Linked DNA regions of Homo sapiens: regions 1, 2, 3 and 4 are each linked to region 5. Evidence: promoter capture Hi-C in 16 types of primary human blood cells and fetal thymus (Javierre and others, 2016). All regions are on one chromosome and are shown on one strand. The core of a region is centred on a gene start or on the middle of the fragment in contact, and the rest is flanking DNA. Distances in the headings are between cores, read along the strand shown.

Evidence for each region. Contacts are between HindIII fragments. The CHiCAGO score rates a contact against its expected background, and 5 or more counts as called.
Region 1: a fragment that was not itself captured here is called in contact with the fragment with the promoter of PNOC in region 5 in 1 of 17 cell types (M1 macrophages); the score reaches 5.2 in M1 macrophages.
Region 2: a fragment that was not itself captured here is called in contact with the fragment with the promoter of PNOC in region 5 in 16 of 17 cell types (M0 macrophages, M1 macrophages, M2 macrophages and 13 more); the score reaches 19.1 in M0 macrophages.
Region 3: a contact is called between a fragment that was not itself captured here and the fragment with the promoter of PNOC in region 5, in 5 of 17 cell types (M2 macrophages, M0 macrophages, total B cells and 2 more). The highest score is 7.7, in M2 macrophages.
Region 4: a contact is called between a fragment that was not itself captured here and the fragment with the promoter of PNOC in region 5, in 8 of 17 cell types (naive B cells, M0 macrophages, total B cells and 5 more). The highest score is 8.5, in naive B cells.

What each region holds. Positions count from the first base shown.
Region 1 is chr8:28,153,743-28,157,845 of GRCh38, reverse strand. It overlaps ELP3 (elongator acetyltransferase complex subunit 3), which reads right to left. Exons shown (of 15, transcript NM_018091.6): 11 at 1,814-1,904. Among named protein-coding and RNA genes, the nearest start is that of ELP3, 63 kb to the right of the region's middle. The HindIII fragment of the contact is 4,480 bases long and covers 220-4,103 here.
Region 2 is chr8:28,077,643-28,081,898 of GRCh38, reverse strand. The region is part of intron 1 of NUGGC (nuclear GTPase, germinal center associated); the gene reads left to right. Among named protein-coding and RNA genes, the nearest start is that of NUGGC, 4.2 kb to the left of the region's middle. RefSeq lists an enhancer at 2,676-2,805. The HindIII fragment of the contact is 3,920 bases long and covers 1-3,414 here.
Region 3 is chr8:28,129,856-28,134,097 of GRCh38, reverse strand. It overlaps ELP3 (elongator acetyltransferase complex subunit 3), which reads right to left. Exons shown (of 15, transcript NM_018091.6): 9 at 1,694-1,820. Among named protein-coding and RNA genes, the nearest start is that of ELP3, 39 kb to the right of the region's middle. The HindIII fragment of the contact is 1,532 bases long and covers 641-2,172 here.
Region 4 is chr8:28,094,600-28,098,631 of GRCh38, reverse strand. ELP3 (elongator acetyltransferase complex subunit 3) reads right to left here. Exons shown (of 15, transcript NM_018091.6): 2 at 1,314-1,413. Among named protein-coding and RNA genes, the nearest start is that of ELP3, 3.5 kb to the right of the region's middle. The HindIII fragment of the contact is 911 bases long and covers 1,290-2,200 here.
Region 5 is chr8:28,315,727-28,320,014 of GRCh38, reverse strand. It overlaps PNOC (prepronociceptin), which reads right to left and starts at 2,747. Exons shown (of 4, transcript NM_006228.5): 1 at 2,699-2,747. RefSeq lists enhancers at 730-1,241, 1,242-1,754. The HindIII fragment of the contact is 2,214 bases long and covers 1,407-3,620 here.

The sequences.
Region 1 (4,103 bases), core at 1,210-3,709, 160 kb after region 5:
AAGCATCTGTGATGTGGCTCTCACTTCTATTCCACAACCCACAGTGCATGCTATGCTACCAGACATTTACAATTACACAATCCTTTTCATTATTATAAATCATTGTAATTATTCAATTATATATCTTATGGTATATTTCCCCCCCATAGAACAAACCATAAACATTTTCTTCCAGTAAGAAAAGATCACTGTGGGAAATTTGATGATGTCACATAAGCTTTTCTAGTAATAGTATTTTTATGAAGGACTGCTATATATGTACAGAATTCCAAGAGAAAAATAAGAGCTCATTATTCAGTTGTAGAAAACTAAAGCTACTTCCACACCCCAGGAACTAGCTCAAGACAATGCTTTGCTGATGTAGAGTCCATGAATTCCAGTAAACAAAAACTGTACAGCAGACGAAGATGATCAATCTCTGTAATTATTAATCTACTTAATGTAGCTGCTGTCCTTTCACTACAATAGTTCTATATAGTAGCTAGCATGGGAATGTATTACTGTTCCATGTTCTTAATGAACATCTGCATGCTGTTTCTGTTTTTTTTTTTTTTTTGGCATGCTTTTTTTAAAGGCAGAGATTGGTGTGTGCTTATTTTCTGCTCAAGATGTTGCCTATAGGAACTAGATATATTTTGGCTATGACTGAATTCCAGCCTTTGGACTCAATCCCAGCTTACTTTAATAGAGGCTAACAAGGCTTATGAGGGGTGAGGGTTAAAGAAGATGGATGGATAACGAGATTGTTGGGATAACCAGGCCAGGTCAGTCACCTTGGCCTTCTTGAAGGTCAGTGGCCTTCTTGGAGGCGAGAGGAGATGGAGAACACAAACAGCTGGAGCCTTGGAGGCAAAGCAGGCACACAATCTTGTTTGGTGTCCTTTGCTATTTTTCTGGAACATAAAATTGTTCACTTTTTTTTTGGTAGAATATGCCAATAATATTCACAAACTCTCCCCTGAACAATCTTCTGAAACATTTTCTCCCTAATAATTTGAGTGAGAGAATAAAATGTCTTAGGTTAAGTCCACAAACACCATATGCAATCCTTGGAACCATGTCTTTCAAAGTGTGGCCCAAATCTGAATTGTGCATGAGAACCATGTACCTAGTGCTGGATAACAAACAGATAGGTCCCATCCCAATCTACTGATCCAGAATCTATGAAGGCAGAGCCCAGGAGTCGGCCCTTGGTCTCAACACCACTCCTGGTTTATCCCTTTAGCAGCTCTAAGAAGTTCCTGAGCACTGGAGTTTTAAACCTTCCTATGACTTAAGAATTTCCCACAGAGACTGTTAAGTTGCAGGTTCTTGGGCTCTTTGTATATCCTGGGCCAGCACAGAGGAGATGTTTAGTAAATATCTGTGAGCGAAGAAGGGACTTCAATGGCCAGAGGGATAGGAGACTGGTATATGTGGGGCAATAGCAGTTTTGGCAATTATTTCATGCACATAATACTTGTCTTTTCAAATGATTATACTTTCCTTTCAGGATTCACGTCTCCTTTTCCTTCAGTCAATAACTGAATACCTAATACTTCAAAAGAAAAACTGTTTTTAAAAACTGGAGTGGGGCACACAGTTGGCAATCTGAGCAGGCAGAAGAAAGCAGAAGGGAATGAAGGAAAAGGAGGCAGCCCCTGCACCACTGGCTTCAGCTCCGACACAGTTCAGTGACTATGCTTTCAACATCTGGGAGCTTTCTGACCTGACCCGCAAGTCTGGTTTTAGGGGTGGTAGTGGCAAAGTCTTTCGTGTTTCAGATTTCTCTTTTTCTCAACAGTTGTGGCCTGACCGCCATATTTGCTCTTACCTGTATTCCGAGGTCTTTCATTCTTGCAAGTGCCAGCTCTCTCAGGTTACCATGCTCTACTCCTGAGCTAACTAAAGGCATTGGAATATCCCTGTACACAGGAGAAAAACATAAGCTGTTGCAAAATAGAAATCATTCTCCACAGCAGTAAGGCAAGGATATTAAAAAAGTTAAAAAGAACAAAAATAAAAAAGCAAAAAACCTATGAAGCTGACCAGGAAATCAGAGGCAAAGCCTCCTAACAAGGAGCTTCTCTATGCCTCAGCTTTCTCATCAAGGAAATTATGATTTCCCCTGACCTTCAGGGTTTCTGTGAAAGGCACCTGATGGAAATCACTTTATAAAATTACAGAGTGCTAAGCAAATGACTGAATGCCCAATAACCATTTGTAAAGATTTTTTGAGTAAAGAGACATTTGTACCAAATAAATCAAGAAATAAATTTTTTCCTTTACAAAATCTGTTCAACAATGTAGCTTACATTTTCCCACACAGCTGCTGAATGACAAGTAACTGGGATGCTCAAACGCCTGCCTTAGCCAACAACTGGTCTCAAAGATTAAATCTTTTTTCCTTGTTTCTCAAAAATCTAAGTTAAAAGTGACTGTGCATTAGAGGAATAACAGCTTGCCTAAAGACAGGAGGAAATAAAATTTATTTCCTGGCATTAATACAGCATAAAGTGCCAGGCATCAAGGAAACTTCCATCAAGAGCTGAAGTTATGAGTTCCATTTTAGTTGCTCCAACACTCTCCTCTAGACAAAAATCAGTATCTAAAGATAAAATAGTTAACAAAATCTGAAGTAAAAATATGCTCGGCACATCTGCTTCCTGTTCAAAGACAAGTCTCTAATTTGTTTTGTCTCCTATGTGGTTGATCAGAGGAAAGATGTGGAGAATATGCCAATTATCTTTTCTTCTCATTTTGCTTTTGAATCAACTTGAGTCTTTTCCTCCTCTTTTCACTTATCCCTTCAAATGTTAAATACAATTAGCTACTTCATCCATTTGATTTTAATAAGATATTCCTCCAGCAAAAGTATCAAAAGCCAATCGATTAGCTTTAAAAGCTATACAAGTAAGTCTGTTAGGCTCTGGAAGCCAGGAGAGTTGCCATACAAACTCTATAAATCAAAGATAAGTCAAAATTCTTTAAGGCAAAGACACATTGGAGCTTTCAAACTGAGAGTGACATAAAATGTATATATTAGAGTGACCAGAGTTAGCATATATGGCTTACTTAACAGTTATCAGTAAAATAAATTTCTATCTTTGGAACTATAATTTTCTTAAAATCAAATACATTTTAAAATTAGTAATCAGATGACGCTAAATGAAGGCTACTAAAGTAAAAAATATGGTTAATTTTGGCAAGGAACATATGTATATTTTTAAAATTTTACTGTTTCAGATTGTACAAGCCAAAGTCTTCTAAATGCCCTTTTTTACCCTGAAATAATTTATAAAGAACTCACAAATATATAAATTATTAAATATGTGGCTATACATCATATAGATTAAATATATGGCTATACATCTCATATATACACATATAAGAAATATATAAAACTTAAAATTTAAAACATCATACACAGCACAAAATTAATCTGATAAAGTCAGTGGCAACCAGTGTTAGCGCCCATTACATGACAAATACATTTAATTCTTGTTATTCATGATAGTTGTGCTGTTGTGAATACTGAATTAGTGAATACTAAAGCATTGTCCACAGGGGATATACAGGGTTAGGTTCCTGTGAGCCCCTAAAACATCTTCAACTGATCAATGCATAACCTTGTTTGATGCATGTTTCTGTTTAAAGGCACCTTATTTAACATATAGCTGATTCATTAACATTGAACTCATGGCCACAGCACTATAACTCATGGACAGCACTATAACTCAAGGACAGCGCTATAACTCAAAGCAGCTTACCTAACACATGTAATTTCTCTAAGGCACACAACAGCCTTCTTGCATTTAGGAACATGAGATAGCATCTCAGGACTACACTTGGGGCAGTGCTCCTCTCTGTATCCTTAGTTAATTAAGAAGAAAATGAATGAAGAGGTGCGGAATACCATGGATGGCTGGACATAGGAAGAGAGCAGAGGCCTAAAGGTAGGGCCTCTGTGGGTTGAAGGATGACTGTATGTAGGAAACTGGTCACTGAGAAGTTAATTACCCAATGCACCAAAAACCAATTAAAAAATCTCAAACCCTTAAAAGAGGCATCAATTAAACTCTCATCAGCTCTGTTACCATAGGTAGAAAACACGGTTTTTAAGA
Region 2 (4,256 bases), core at 205-2,704, 240 kb after region 5:
AAGATTGTTTTTTTTTTTTTTGAGATGGAGTCTCACTCTGTTGCCCAGGCTGGAGTGCAGTGGCATGATCTCAGCTCACTGCAACCTCCGCCTCCCGGGTTCAAGCGATTCCTCTGCCTTAGCCTCCTGAGTAGCTGGGACTACAGGCATGTGCCACAACGGCTGGCTAATTTTTTGTATTTTTAGTAGAGACAGAGTTTCACCGAGTTAGCCAGGATGGTCTCAAACTCCTGACCTCATGATCTGCCCGGCTCAGCCTCCCAAAATGTTGGGATTACAGGTGTGATCCACTGCACCCAGCTGATCGAAGATTCTTTAAGGAAGATGGTAGAGCATCCTCAATGTGTTTGATCAATAGGGACAAGAACGGGAGTCAGAATCTCAGCTAAGGTGGCATCTGTTCCCCAAAGACTAACAGACGTGGCCTGGATGACACTAGTACTGATTTCTAGTTTAACTACCTTCATAAAATATTCAAAAAATAACATTTGTACAGATGCATAAGTGCCTGCAGAGCAATTTTGCATTCATTATCACATTTAATTCTCACAACGAACTCTTTTTTATTTTTTATTTTTTTGACGTGGAGTCTCGCTCTGTTGCCCAGGCTGGAGTGCAGTGGTGCGATCTCAACTCACTGCAACCTCTGTTTCCTGGCTTCAAGTGACTCTCCTGCCTCAGTCTCCCAAGCAGCTGGAATTACAGGCATGCTGCACCATGCCCAGGTAATTTTTGTATTTTTAGTAGAGACAGGGTTTCACCATGTTGACCAGGCTGGTCTCGAACTCCTGACCTCAAGTGATCGGCCCACCTTGGCCTCCCAAGGTGCTAGAATTACAGGCATGAGCCACCATGCCTGGCCAATGAATTCTTGATACAGGTATTTTTTTTAAAACCAATTCTATCCTATATGTGGAGAAATAGAGGCTCAGAGAGATCAGGTGATTTGCTCTGTGTTGCATTGAAGATTGGGAGCAGGAGCAAAAATCCAGGCATTCTGACTCCAAATCCCTAATAATTTTTGCTCCACCATTCACATCTGGAATATGGAAGCCCTTTGTTTGCAGATACTGTGACCACATTGTTTCCTGCTGTACCCCCAGTATCTAGAACAGTGCCTGGTGCATCATAGGCACTCACAAATATTTGTTGAATGAATGGATGGATAAATAAAATAGTAAATATAATTTCTGCTATTCTTGATCTTACCATCTAAGATATATATCTATATCTAGATCTAGATAGATCTATCTAGATATAGATACAAAAAATTATATCTATCATCATTCATTCAACAAATTATTTAGTGCTTGCTGTGTACCAAGTACTTCCCATATTTATTAAAAGTAGAGAGTAAACCAATGTTAATGACCAAAATGCCCCTTTGAGAAACTTTGCTAATTTAAGCATTTAAATTTAAGTAAGTAAATAGTGTTGGCAAGGGTTAATGATGCGAGGCAAGGTAGGGTGAAATGAGATTCTGCCTAAGGAGAATAACTAGGGGAAAAGAAAAGGACATTTGTCATTTGTAATAAACACATTGAATTTTGCATTGAACACAGAAAAAATGCAGTGAAAATGTATTCCTCTGATAGTCTCTCTCTCTCTCTCTGGCTTGTTTTACTTCTGAGGGTGTCTTCAAGTTTGCAGGCAGTAAGGTTGGGCATGGTGGCTCATGCCTGTAATCCCAGCACTTTGGGAGGCCAAGGTAGGCAGATCACCTGAGGTCAGGGGTTCGAGACCAGCCTGGCCAACATAGTGAAACCTTGTCTCTACTAGAGATACAAAAATTAGCCGGGCATGGTGGCAGGTGCCTGTAATCCCAGCTACTCGGGAGGCTGAGGCAGGAGAATCGCTTGAACCTGGGAGGCGGAGGTTGCAGTGAGCTGAGATCATGTGCCACTGCACTCCAGCCTGGGCGATAGAGCAAAAACTCCATCTCAAAACAAACAAACAAACAAACAAAAAAACAAAGAACAACAAAAACAAAAACAAAAAAGCAGTTTGCAGGCAGTAGCTTCAGCTTCAGTTCCTGCATACAATTCTATCAAGTTGCTACTCTCTCTCCCCACTCAACAGCCTTCCTTCTCATGAAATGCCTTTGCCATGCATTTGAGGGAACCCTCCTTTGCGGGCACTACTCCTTCCATTGCCCTATGCCTGAGCTCCAGGGGGCTTGTTTAAATAGTGCCTATTAGAGGCTGCTGAATGTGATGAAAAGAACATTGAACTTGGAGTCAGGAAAACTGAGTTTCAGCCCTCATTGCCATAATCTTACTATGTGACCTTGGACAAGTTTCTTCCCCTTCCTGGTCCTCAGGGTCTGGATCTGTAGAAGAAGGGGCCCTAGCATTCTTTTTTTTAAGACGAAATCTCGCTTTGTTGCCCAGGCTGGCAGTGGCGTGATCTCGGCTCACTGCAACCTCCACTTCCTGGGTTCAAGCAATTCTCCTGCATCAGCCTCCTGAGTAGCTGGGATTACAGGCGCGTGCCACCACACCGGGCTAATTTTTGTATTTTTAGTAGAGATGGGGTTTCACCATGCTGGTCAGGCTGGTCTCAAACTCCTGACCTTGTGATCCACCTGCTTCAGCCTCCCAAAGTGCTGGGATTACAGGCGAGAGCCACCGCACCCGGCCCGCATTCTTTATTCAATGCCATGATATGCAGCTGTTCTAGTACAGGAATGACCTGCGTTTGTGTTGCCTCTGTGATTTTCCTGTAAGAAAAAAAACAATAAGCAAACACAAACAGAAGAAAAGGAGGGGGAGAGAAGCAAGAATAACTGTGAAAAGTTACAATTATTTATCAGGAAATCAGTTCTGTGCAGCCTTCCTATATCTAGCTGAATGTGCACAGTCTTATTTAAAAGATGCTATTCTTAGGTTCAGTGCACATGAATGTAAATAAGCACTAAAAGCAAAACTTCAGTGCTAACCACATAGCTGAAATACAAGCAAAATAAACCACACAGGCAGAACCTTGCTTATCTGAGCAATAAATTTGGACTGTTATCAATTGCTTCTCCACAGAAACCAAATTTTCACAATGAACACCACCATTCCTTCCCTTTGGGGGGAAATAGACTGCAGGATGATTTGAAGAAGGACTATACTCCTGTAGCTCATTTTCTCCTTAATACAATGCACTTGAAATCACAGTGCTCTTGGTGTACTGCTCTTGGCCACACGGAAGCCCTAATCATTGGTACGGTCTCAGTTTCAATGACAGGTGACATTTTCAAAATGAGAATTTGTGTCTTTTTAGCACCCATCTAAATCAGAGAACACTCACACTTTAAGGACTAGTTCAGTCTTTGCCTTACACATGGGAAACCTGAGGCCAGGGTGATAAAACGACTTGTCTTAAGTCCTCCAGCTTTATTGATGGGTGGTAAAGCTGGAGCTGGAAGCTTCCACACCAGATTTCCAGCCTAATGTTCTTCCCACCTCATCATTTAGTTCAACCCAATGACTATATACTGAATGTCTGTACCAAACTACCCCCATTTGTTTATCGCTTTTCCTTTTTATGTACTTGGTGTTTATTTTCTTCTGTCCTCTTAGCCTTTTTGCAAATGATCCCTTTCCATTTGCTAGTGTTTTTGTTTGGTCATCAAATGATCCCTTCCTGCCAGTCTTTGAACATTGGCCAAAGGAATTTGAAGCCCAATCCACCACAACCAAACCACATAATTTCCAATGATTCCAAATTTCAGTTAGAGTTCACAAATTACTTGTATACAGAAACCATAGATGCTGCTACGGAGGAAGTTGTGTGGTTTTCTGTCTTCATTGCATGCAGCTAAACCCAAACCAACCCCAGCTAGTTACATGCTAACGGCCCTTGCTGGACACTGTGTACTGTTGATTTAGTAAATGAAGTCAAATGAACTAAAGTTCTTGTGATTCTGAAAGAAGCCAAAACTACTACCCGTATTCCAGAATTCAGTGACCACAGCTGCTTCTGCTCTAAACTCAAGGCCCTTTGATTTTGTGCCCTTTAATCCACAGCTCTCTCAATTGAAGGTCCCTAATCTTAGTGTCTGTATGACCACGACTCTTATCAACTTGGTCTATCAGTTCTTTTGTACTTTATCCGGCTCCACTGTTTCCTCCTAGAATTTGAATTCCAGCACACCAGCTGTCCTGGAGGTCGACCATGGATTTGTTCACTGGTTGTATCATACATTTTGTTTTGCTTCCAGTGCTCACTGTGATAATATGATGCCTAGCATTTCATACGAGTTACTCCTT
Region 3 (4,242 bases), core at 157-2,656, 180 kb after region 5:
GGGACAGCATTAGGAGAAATACCTAATGTAAATGACAAGTTCATGGGTGCAGCCAACCAACGTGGCACATGTATACCTATGTAACAAACCTGCACGTTGTGCACACATACCCTAGAACTTAAAGTATAATAATAATAATAATAATCATGATAATAAAAAGTGTGTTTCAGGTGCCTTTTTGGCCTGGTGTCTGAGCACCTGGCTATTAGTTACTGAGGGGAGGATACTAGACTCACAGTCTATTACATATCCATTGTGGGGGAATTACGAAGAGGGATATCTGTGAATTAATGTTATCTCATAAACAGGTCCTCAGGTGCAGTTCACCAGCTTAAAAAATAATAAAAGTAAACTTCTTGAGAGGAAAGAATTATTAACTTCACAAATAAGACATGGTAAACTGCATTTTTCTAAACAGAGCAAATTAAAAGTACTTTTATAGATGAAATAACTTGATAAATATCGTCATCATCTTAAAACACACTTGCCCTATCGGAGAATCTGAAGAAAAACAAAAGGCCTGACCAATCTCATTTCCCACAACAAAGTTAACATGGATCAAGAAACTGTGAGAGTTAAAATAACAACAATAAAACAACCCAGAGTTAAAATTCAAAGAACAGAAAGGCAGTTCTAAGCTTAGAGGCATTTGAAGAAAAAAAAAAAAAAGGAAAAAAAAGATCGACTTAATGGAAGCACAAGTAAAAGGTCAACAATAGGTTAAGGAAAATATTTAAAACAAATATAAAAACCAATGAGTCCATAATCTCCTTACCTAAAAAATTCATATAAACTAATACTAAAAATATTCTTATCTCAATAGAATAATGAGTCAGAGGATAAAAACACACAATTCCAAAAAGATGAAAGAAATGTAATTAGTAAATACAAACTTGAAAAATGTATTATTACAATTTCAAAATGCAAGTTAAAATGGCACTTTTATTGATCAAACTAGCAAACAGTAAAATATATGTACATATGTGCATATGCATCTATAAGCATATATAGAAAATAAACAGGAGAGAATTATTTGGGAAGAAAAACTCTGCTGAAATGAGTATAAATTGTTATAACTCTCTGCAAAGCAACTTATTAATACAGTGAGATTCTTAAAATGTTTCTACCTTTACCTGATAATTCTACTCCATGGAATTTATCATAAACAGATAAACCTAAATACTAAAAAAAATTATACACATAAAGTCATTTACCTGCAGTGTTTTTTAAATAATATTAAAAAACCAGTATATCTTAAATTCTGAAAAACTTGCAAGGGTTTAAGCAAGGTATGACATATTAAATTAAAAAGACATTTAAATATGTTAACATGTTAACAGAGACCAGGCTACAACATGGATAAATGCTTGTTAAAATGTTAAGTGAAAAAACTATTACAATAATTTCCTATGTCATATATATTTGTATGTCTGTGTTATATTTGCATAAACAACCTCACCCCCCAAAAAACCTATGCATAGAAAAATCTTGGAAAGAATTCATTAAAATGTTAAGAGTTTTGTCTGATGGGGCTATGGGTGATGTCTCTTACCCTACTGTGTTTCTAATATTCTATAATAAGGATGCATTTCTTTAACACTGGAAAACATCAACAGTGAACAAGCAACAAGACCAGATGGGATAAGAAACATGCAGAGCCATTCTGAATGCGCCTGGCTGAAGTCACACTTACTGTGAACTGTTCAATGTCTCTTTCTAGTCCCACGTTTGGCAGGTCAGGCATCATATGGGCCACCACTTTAAAACCGGAATCTTTGGCCAGGTGAAATGACTCACACACTGCCTTCACAGTGTGGCCCCTAAGGAAAGAAAATCACTACCTGTGAAAATCACTACCTATTTGTGTAACATCTGTTACACAAATAAATGGGTGACAAAGTTAACACAAGGAACAAGGGGAAAACAATCTCTGAGACAGGTAACAGAAGTTCCATAACCAAAATCATATGGCTGGGGGAAAAGACATCTCAGAAAGTCATTTTTTACATCCCCACCTCTCAGGAGGCCTGGAAGTAAATAACTTTATTTCTGAGATATTTCTCAGAAATTCTCTTACACATCTACTTAAAGTCTTGAAAGTAAAGCATTGGGATGGCAAAAGTTAATGTGTATTAAAATTATTTGGTTTAGCATCACCAGTCAAAATAAGCTTATGAATGTAAATACCTGTATTAAAAATTAAAATGAGCTCAAAACCATGCAGAAGCAGCAAGCTGCTATGTTCTTTCCTTTAAAGATCTTGTGAAATTATTTGTAGACAGGGAGGAAGAGTGAAACCTATGATACAAAATAGATTTCACTGGTGGGTTTGGAGGATCCTTAAATAACAGTAGAAAGAGAGAATGACTTAGTGAGAAGGCAGAGTCATTTGGGGTCACGTGGATAAATCATCTTAACTTGGCATTCTAGAGCCAATCCAGCAGGAAACAAGTCCTAACAATAGTTTTGGGCAACTAAACTGAAGTCTTGTGGCTATCCTTCTGCCACGAAGGTGTTCCCATTCACGGCAGAAGGATCCTAGAAACCACAGACTCCATCTCACTCTCTCAGAATGCTCCCAACCATTTCCATGGCTTCAATTTCTAATGTCTTTTTGCTGATGACTTCCCAATTCCTAGGACAAGGCCAGGCCTCTCTCATGAATTCCAAACCCAAATAACCAATACTTTAAAGCAGCACTATTTAAAATGACAGCCACTAGGCACATGTGGTTATTAAAATTTATATTTAGAAGAATTAAAATGGAAAACTCAGTTGCAGGCACAGAACATTTTGATCACTGCTGAACTGTCTATTGCCTAGCCCTGCTCTAAAGCAAACCTTCACTTGGCTATTCTACAGGTATCTGAAACTTAGTGTAGCCAAATGAAACCCACATTCTCTCCAAGCCTCCTTGACTTCCCATTCTCTCTTATCCTCACTTCCAATCAGTCACCAATCACCACCATTCACTTCTTTCCAGGACATCAGTATTTCCTGCTTAATTTCTGTAACAGCCTCGTACCTGATCTCCCTTCCAACTTGCTCTTCTCTGACTGCCCCTTACACTGTAAGCGATCTTTCTAAGCTGCAGATATGCTCCATCACATTGTAGCTTTATGCGTGCTGGTGGCTTGCTCCATTAGATTCATGTCCAGCCTCCCTGGGCTGACTCCTCAGGCCCCTAATAATCAGCCCCTCTGCCTGCTTTTCAGCCTCACCTCTTATCACTCTCCTATTTCACATTCTAATCAAACTAAGCCACTCCAAATTCCTCAAATGTGCTATGGCACTCCCATCTCTAGGAGTTCATTATTTTCTTTCTGCCTCAATCTTCCTCTTCTGCACCTGACCAACTCAGACTCTTCCATGAAGTCCCAACTCAGATGTCGTATTCTTCAGAAAGCTCCCCCTTCCCCTCCATCTGCACAACTGTCTCTCTAGCACAGCCCTTGAAGGCTACAGCACTCCACAGTTTCCCTGGTTGAAGCCTTTTCCCACATAAGAGCATCCTATTCGGTTACTCTTTCTTAATTAAACATGATATCCATGAGATTCTTCCCCATGCTAAAAAATATTCAACAGATCTCTATTCCTTAAGGGAAAATTCCATCCTCCTCGGCCTGGCATTCCTCTTGGTTGTTTCTAAGATGCTGATCAGTGCTTGTTTCCCTAGTTCCCCTTTGCTTCCTTCTCCTGGCACAACACCAATCACACCTACCCAAATCCTACAGAATAAAGGGGCCTTTAACATCCAACTCAACACATCCTTCCTCCAAAGCCCACCGTTAGAATTCTCGGTCAATCATCTCAGCTGCCTAATAAACTCTCAATTGTCTCCCCTACTCCACTAATTTAGCAATTAACTGTGAAGTTCCTTATACAGTTAACCTTTCGCGGGTATTTTCTTTTCAACTAAAAGATATACTTCTAGAGGGAACATAATAAAGCTCTAACAACTCTTACTTCCTTCTTTTCTTGCACTCCCAAATTTCTCAAAGTTTACAACCATGGCATCACCAAACTTTTTGCTAGTTGGTATTTGCTCCACAAAAATGAATCTCTTAAACATTACCCTGATGTCCTTTTTATTCAAACTCTTTTCTTTGTTCTTGGCCTTCTCTCCTGCTTTAAACTACTAACCCCGAGTCCTCTCCCCTGCTCTCTATATGGACAAGGCTGCTTAGGACAAGAAGAGGGAGAGAGATGAGTGTGTTTACAGGCTGCTGGAAAAGACCCACT
Region 4 (4,032 bases), core at 496-2,995, 220 kb after region 5:
TGACATCTGAGGAGGGGCGAGTTTTAAGGACGATGGCAGCTTTAGCTTTAGATGTGCTAAATTAAAGAGAACAACAAATATATATAAGATGTAGAAATGTTCACTAGAAATTAAAGATTTGTATAATCAGGGGTATAACCAACAAAAAAAGAAAGAAAAACTTCTAAAGACACGGTAGAAAAATCAGTAAAATACAATAACTTTATAGTCAAAAGAGGATATTTACTTATTCCTGTAGCAAATATTTACTAAGCATGAGGATTCAAGGAAGGGGTAAAATATTGCAGCATCTCAAGTATCAGAGAAGAGAGTCTAAGAAAAGGTCATTCCTGTATGTGATGATTAGACGACCTGGGGTTGGGGAGAGAACCCTTTCATTAGGGAAGATCTACATAGAGTGAATATATATTATAGTTTGAAAAAAAAAATAGATGCAGAGATGAAAGACAACTCTTATTTGAGACTGTAGGAAAGTCCAAGCTGAAAATGATTATGGAGAGGAAGTGGATGAATGTGTCAAAGAGGTTCTACAGCAGGGGAGGGTTGGATTAGATCAGGGGCCCCAAAGGGAGGGTTTTCCTGACAGAAAGCTGCTGCTTCAGCTGAGACAGTAGGGAAGGAAAGTAGGATGTGCAGCGATGCAGCACAGAAGAACATGGGCTCTGGAGACGGCTGACCTAATTCCAAATCCCAGCTCTGCCAATTACTAGTTACTTACCCCTGGACAAATTATTTAACTGCTCTCTGACTCAGATTACCCACCTGTCAAGTGTGGCTGGTATCAGTACCTATCTCACAGAATTTTGAGGGGATTAACTGAGCTAATACATACAATGCATTAGCAACAGTGTCTGGAATACAGTAAGTGCCCAATAAATGTTAGAAGCTATTAGTATTCTTAAGCTGAGACAATTTTGCCATCAAGAAATGAATGACGGCCGGGTGCGGTGACTCACGCCTGTAATCCCAGCACTTTGGGAGGCCGAGGTGGGCAGATCACGAGGTCAGGAGATCGAGACCGTCCTGGCTAACACGGTGAAACCCCGTCTCTACTAAAAATACAAAAAATTAGCCAGGCGTGGTGGCGGGCGCCTGTAGTCCCAGCTACTCAGGAGGCTGAGGCAGGAGAATGGCGTTAACCCCAGAGGCGGAACTTGCAAAAAAAAAAAAAGAAATGAATGACAAGGCAAGGCAGAAAGCTAAAATTCTCAACTAAAATAAAACTTGAGCTGGAAAACAAGTAGTACTAGATAATTTCATAAAAGAGATCTGCTACCTAAGAACAAGCTTGCTCTCTCTTTATATCCACTTACTTATTTAGATCGATGTCTTTCCCCTGCTCGTGGGCTTCAATCAGTTGTTTAATAACATCTCCTATAGTCAGCATCATCAGCTCAGCAGGGCTGAGATCTCCTGGAAAGTTAATATTCAACAATGTCAAAAATCGTATCATTCAATCAAGATTTTAAAATCTGATTTAGTAGCAGTTTTCCATCCGAAACCATACAAATATGCCAAATGAATAGCTCAAGTTCAGAAGATGCTAAATCTCTACTGTTTACAATTTGATCATATCTTTTGTATCTTTAAAACAAACGTGGCTTTACATATATATGGGAAAAGCTCCCTTTAGAAGCACATACTCTATGAGATTATTAAAAATAAATACAGGAAAGGATACAGGAGTAGAAACAATGTGAGGAGAAAGAACTTAATCACACAGGAAAGGACCAAAGTAATTCTCTTCCCTTTATCTCCAGAGGTGTAATTACTAATATGTGCATAATACTTTAGAGTTCATAAAGAACATTTAGATGCATGAATTCAGGTAATTCTCAGAACAGAGGTAGACAGAACAAGAATATGTGCCTGTTACATGAAGATGCTATCAAGGAGTAAAGTTGAAACTCAAACCCAGGTATCTGCCTAAGAATCTTAATGCATTTCTAAAATATTGTCTGTCCACCATCATGAACTTCTGGCAACTGGGGCTCTCGGTCTCATCCAAAGGCAACAGCAGAAGCTGACAGGTTCTTGTATGACGCCATCCACTCAAGCACAGTTCAAGGATTGGTTCAAGGATGGGCATATCTCTAAGCCAGGCCAATCTGAGCTCTTTTCTTCAAGGTAAAAAATGCCAGTCTTTTTCCAGGGACAAAAGCTGTGGGATATCAGCTTGGAAGCTGTCAGCAAGCAAGCTTCTCACCTGTAGAGCAGTGGTTCCCAACCTTTTTGATAAAAGGAACTGGTTTTATGGAAGATGATTTTTCCACAGACCAGGGGAGCAGGGTGGTTTTAGGATGATTCAAGTGCATTACATTTATTGTGCACTTTATTTTTATTACTGCATTGTTATATGTAATGAAATAATTATACAATTCACCATAACGAATTCTGTTCCCATAGAATCAGTGGGAACCCTGAGCTTGTTTTCCTGCAACTAGACACTCCCATCTGGGGGTGATGGGAGACAGTGACAGATCATCAGGCATTAGATTCTCATAAGGAGCACACAACCTAGACCCACCACATGCACGGTTCACAACAGGGTTCAGACTCCTTTGAGAATCTAATGCCACTGCTGATGTGACAGGAGGCAGAGCTTAGGCAGTAACATGAGTGATGGGAAGTGGCTGCAAATACTGATGAAGCTTCACTTGCTCGCCTGCTGCTCACCTTCTTCTGTCTGGCTCAGCTCCTAACAGGCCATGAACCGGTACTGGTCCGTGGCCCAGGGGGCTGAGGACTCACACTGCAGAGAAAGCTAAAACATAATGAAAGCGTGGATGGAAGGCCCTGGCAATTATGGAGCCCACACATTTACTTTATCTCATTTGAACCCTTACAGTAACACGGAGGGTAGGTACTGTTATCCCATTTTATAGATGTGAAAAATGAGGCTAAGGCAAGTTAACAAGCTATCGTAAACAGCAGAGCCAAGACTCAAATCCAGCTCTTTTCACCACAACTTCCATGCTTTTTTCACTGTAACACACTGCATCTAATTTAATGAGGCAAGGCTAACATATACACAACAATTTTTGAGAGAAATAAAGTCCATCTATACTCAAAGGCTAAATGCTTTCCAAACCATGTAACTCAGCACTTCCAGAGTTCTACAAAGGTGCCTCAGGGGCCATGCAACAGAGGTAGGACTGGTGGTGGTCATGGCAGAGGAAGGGAGAAGGGAAGAGGAAAATAAGGCATGGAGGAAAAAAAGGAGGAGGTCTCTTTATTTCCACCACAGCAGCTCTGCTTTCAGCTGTTTATATATTGAGGTTCTGTGTAAGAATTTATTTGGAGGGTAAAAGGGGATCGGCTGATAAGAACAGATAAGATTTGGAAACCACTTGTATAGCTCTTGAGTGTATCAAGAACTGGAAGAGTAAATGAGTAGGAAAAGACTTCATGAAGGAAATGGCACAGGGATCTTTAAAGATAGGGCAAGATTTGGACATGCAAAACAGAAGGCAATCCAGAAGAAATAATGTCAGGCATAGGAATTACCTATCTTTGTGTGAAACAGCACAGCCTAACTAAAATCCAGCTTTCTAACAGGGTGTAATAAAGAACAGATTACAGGGGACCCTGGCCACTAGGCAAAGGCATTGAAATGGAATGCAACAGACAGTGAAGAATTGCATATTCTCAACTTTGGAAATAAAAAGTTGAAAGTAACGTTTAAGGAAGGTAAGAATATTATCGGTACAAAGAATGATTCAGAAAGTGAAAAAGAATACATATAATATGGATACTACTCAAATGGCTCTTGAAAGGCAACATTGTTTTAAAAAACCCACAAAATCTAAGACAGGATCCAGTCCCAATGCCTACTGGCTGTGTGGTAACGGAAAAGATCGACAATTTTTTTTCTTTTTCTTTTTCTTTTTGAGACAGAGTCTTGCTCGGTCACCCAGGCTGGAGTGCAGTGGTGCGATCTCGGCTCACTGCAACCTCCACCTCCCAGGTTCAAGTGATTCTCCCGCCTCTGCCTCAGCCTCAGCCTCAGCCTCCCAAGTAGCTGGGATTAGA
Region 5 (4,288 bases), core at 1,498-3,997:
ATCCAGGGAGATGCCCAGAAAACTGGCTTGCCCCTGAAATCGATGTGCTCCAAATCTCATGACTAGTTTGTGATTAGATGGAAAACTTTATGTTCGACTGTGGGATTTAAATAAAGGCGTTTAGAAAATCCAGTTTGCTTCATGACTGCCCAGCAATTCAAGCCACTGCCAGCCACTCATTGTCAGGACGGCTCCCGTTTTCTGAGAAGGGCCCGTCCCTTTCCTAAGATATCTGAGGAGTAGCTCCACCCAGACTCGGAATGCAAGATATTTCAAAGCTTCCTTCGTGGGCTTTGGGAGCTGTGGAGCTGGATGGAGAAATGAGGGATCACTGAACCGTGTCAGTGCAAGTAGAGAACGCTCACCTGAAACTTCCCATTCCTACCAGTGTGCATATGTGCATGTGTGTATTAGCATGAAATAAGCACGTAGACAAGCTTAGCTCACTGCCTGGCACAGAGTGGGTTTCAAGAAATGTTAATTCCTTTGCCCTCATTTTATGTGTTTGACCTGGCTGCTGCCTCCCTCTTCAAAGCCCTTCACCCATCCAAATTCCACCTGCCTTCTCACTTGGTAGGATCCCAGGAATGCCTGGAGGAAATGCTCCTTCTCCCGAATTCTTCTAGCACTTGCTCTCTGGATTATGTGATTTAGGACTGAATTACACCCTGCCTTGCATGGTCCTCTAATTGTTTCTCATGTTTGTGTTACGTCTCTCCTCTACCCCCGACCCCACTATGAGTTCATAAGCACCCCTGACCGTAACGGGGAGATGAACTGGAGCCACAATGCCTTGGCTCAGTCCTGACCCTGCCATGTACTGAATAAATCATTTAATCTCTCAGTTTCAGTTTCTCCAACTGCAACACCGAGATAATGGCACCACCTCACAGGGCTGTTGCTGGGATAATAGGTGTGAAAGCGCCTAAATCGTTGTACAAATGTAAAGTGCTGTTATTATCACCTCTGCTGAATCTACTAGAGCCCCTGCAAGCCTCCCTGCCTGGTGGAGTGTAGACGGTAACTACCTGATTGATTGAATACAGGATAGCTTAGTGACAGCTCTTGTCATAGGCTCCAGGGAGCACAGGTTTGAGCCTAATCCTGCAATCACTCCCTTCACTGACAATGCAAACTCGCCTGCATTTTACAAATCCGTAAGTACTCTCAGCCTTCAGCTGATAAAGCAGGGGCTGCTGCCCTGTGCGCAACAAAACTGCGCCCTCAAAATGACCCGAGGCTGTACCACAGCGCCCTCGCCAGGCAGCACCAGGCGGCACATGCTTTTACAGAGGTGGTGATGGTTGGGGATGGGTTTTCCAGGGACCCTCCTCTGCAGAAGACTCAGCAAGCCCAAAGGAGCACGAATCCTTTTTGTTAAAGGTAACATAGCCTCAGTGTAAGCTTGTAGAATATTTCCCTGCCACACTTTACAAATGAGAAAAAAAGAGGCTGCATGCAGTAGCCACCCACAAGCAGCGAAAAAGAGCAGTATTTGCTTTGGGAGGTTTTGATAAGAAGCCAGGCAGTTACTTTTCCCATCTATGTTGAAAACTCTGGTTTGGGCTTGCTGGCGAATGCCGTGCAAAGCTCATCTTTTGTTAGTCTGCCGAACAATGTTATTGGTTATAATTGGGGCAATTATGGGCTGCTTGAGGAAGCTAAACACAGATGTTTAAGCGCAGGATGGGGGTATTCAAGTCCAAAGCAGCTTGCTTTAAATAGTCCATTTCCCGAATCATCCTGCCTTACTTGAAATTCCCCCAGAACTTGCCCATGTTCAGAGCGAGATTCGGGGAGGAGGGGCTGGGTAGTGAAGCCGGGGAAGCAAGACTCGAGGGAGAGAGATGCACAAAGAGAGGAGGAAGAAAGAAGGTGGCTGAGAGAGCCTCGAGAGTTGGGATGCGGTGACTATGAACGGAGTATTCTGCATGACCTGGGCAAAGACCTTTAGGTGGGGGAGATGGGCAGGGGGAGAGGGATGCCAAGCAAGAGAAGAGCCCTCTAAATGAATCGGGTTCTGGGAGACCAAGGTCACGCCCGTAGAAATGCTCTCTGGAATTCACACGCCGTGGCGCTCAGCAGTGTGTGTATACAGGTGAAGCACACTCCCCAGATCTGGCGCTTCCCCATTATTTGTAGCAATTTCTGCTGGGGGCAGAAGGGAGAAGGGCTCCCTCCGGATTAAAAACTCCCATCTGGATGGCATCAAGTTCAGTGATAGGCGGAGAAGCAGCCTGCGCACCGCATCTGAGAGGAAAGGAAGCCACTGAGAGGAAACCCTCATGAGGGGGCCAGGGTCTTCCTGGGGGCCGCCCCGTGGAAGGCAAACCCCCTCCCAAGTGCCTGCCCCTCCTCTGGCCTCACTCCTCCAGCAGCCTCCTCTCGACACAGAGCAACAACCACGTAGGGGCCACAGCTGGGGAAGCAAAACTTTTCCTCATTTCCAAGTTCCCCTCTTTCTGCTTCTGCGTCTGTCTGAGGTTAAAAAAGAGACTCAGCCCTCCCCCGTTCCCCACCATCCAAGCGCTACAAAGGAGATGAATGAAGAAACCATCTCGCAAGAGGCCAGCAGCATCCACACTGGACAAAGGAGAGAGGCCGAGGAGCCAGCCCCTGGTGGCCCTGCCCTCCCGGAGCTCCACGCAGTTAGTCCAGTTAGTCGCGGTCGGGCTGGGGGCCCCGTGCAGTTGCCTACCTGAGAGCTGTCAGTCCCCGGCTCCCTCCGATGGATGCGAGGCTCGGTTCCGCTTTCTCAGCCACACCAGCATATATATCCTCTCCCCCACGCACAGCCCTCCCCTTCCCTGCCCACCTCCATGACACATACACACACTGACCCCCTTCAGCAACCAAACAGCAGAACCTGCAAGCCTTCCTGGCTGTTCCCTTCCCCCGGCTCTGCCATCAGACCTGTGACATCCCCACCTCCCCATCAATCCATTCTCAAGCCTGCTTCACCTGGACTCTGTTCAGCCAGGATCCCACAGCTGCCTTCCCTGTGCTTCCAGAGGCTCTGTGAGGACTGATGGGGAGCTCTGGCAAGTCAGAAAAAAAGCCTCCTGGTGACAGTGACGAGGCAGACCCCAAATCCTGGAGTCTCCTTGAGCAACCTTTTTGCCTGAGGAGTGAAGAATAGGAGGCAGGCAGAAGGGAGGGGAGCTCATGCCAAGCTCCTACCGACTCGGAGGAGCCCAGGGCTGAGCTAAGCCAAGCCCTGACCTAATGTCATTGCCCCTAACTAGGCCACTCAAGAGGTGGCTGCACCTGCCCTGGGCCAGGTCAGGAGGCATTTCCACAGGTGCCCACAGCATGGTGCAATGGAGAATGCTGAGACTCGAGGCTCAGATGGAAGTGTCTGAAATTCGGCTGTACAGTCAGAGCAAGGCACATCTCTTTGTGAACCTCAAGTCCTCCTTCCGGAAAATGAGTCTAATACTGCCCAGGATGGTTGTGAGTAGAAAAAGGAGATTCTGTTTGAATCTACAACACACGAGGCCCTTAATGAATGTGCTGCATCCTCCCTCTCCTCTCAGCCCGCTTTTCACACTGATTAGTACCACCTGGATGTAGAAATCCCATATCAGTGTCTGGTGTCACAACAGAGAGCTTTTAAAGCTTCTGCAACTTAGGGCATCACTACCGAGGGCCCTGGAGGCTCAGAAGCTCTGGAAGCTTCCCTGTCCCTTACTGCAGAGCCTCTTTGTCTTCTACAGCCGCCGGGGGTTGTGGGCTGCAGGAAAGGAGCTCACAGGCTGAAGGCACAGGCTTGAGGGTTTAGCATCCTTGTGGACCCCACGTTTCCTTACCTTAGGTGAATTTCACCATGACCCTGTCCTTGGTTTTCCTAAGAGGGTCTAAAATATTCCAGAATCCCAGGGTTTGAACCTATGTCATCCAAGGAGCTCAAGCACTCATTCATGTGGTTAAGTCCAGCTCTCTGGTCTACCCAGGACTGGGTGGAGAAGGATTGAGGGAAGCATCTGCCCTGACTGCAAATGGTATAGGGTTTCTTTTTGGGGTAATGGAAATGTTCTGGATTTAGACTGAGGTGATGGTTGCACAACATAGCAAGAATACTAAAACCCACCAAATTGTATGCTTTAAAATGGTGCATTTTATGTTATGGGAATTACATCTCCATAAAAAGAAAATAGGAAAAAGACAGCAAACATCTGCTCAGGTTAAGAGCAACAGGTTCTGAGAATAAAATTTCCCTTCCGTCTGTGTTCACAGCAAAAGGGCTCAGGAGACCAGCATACTCATGATTCTTCACTTAGATCTCTGT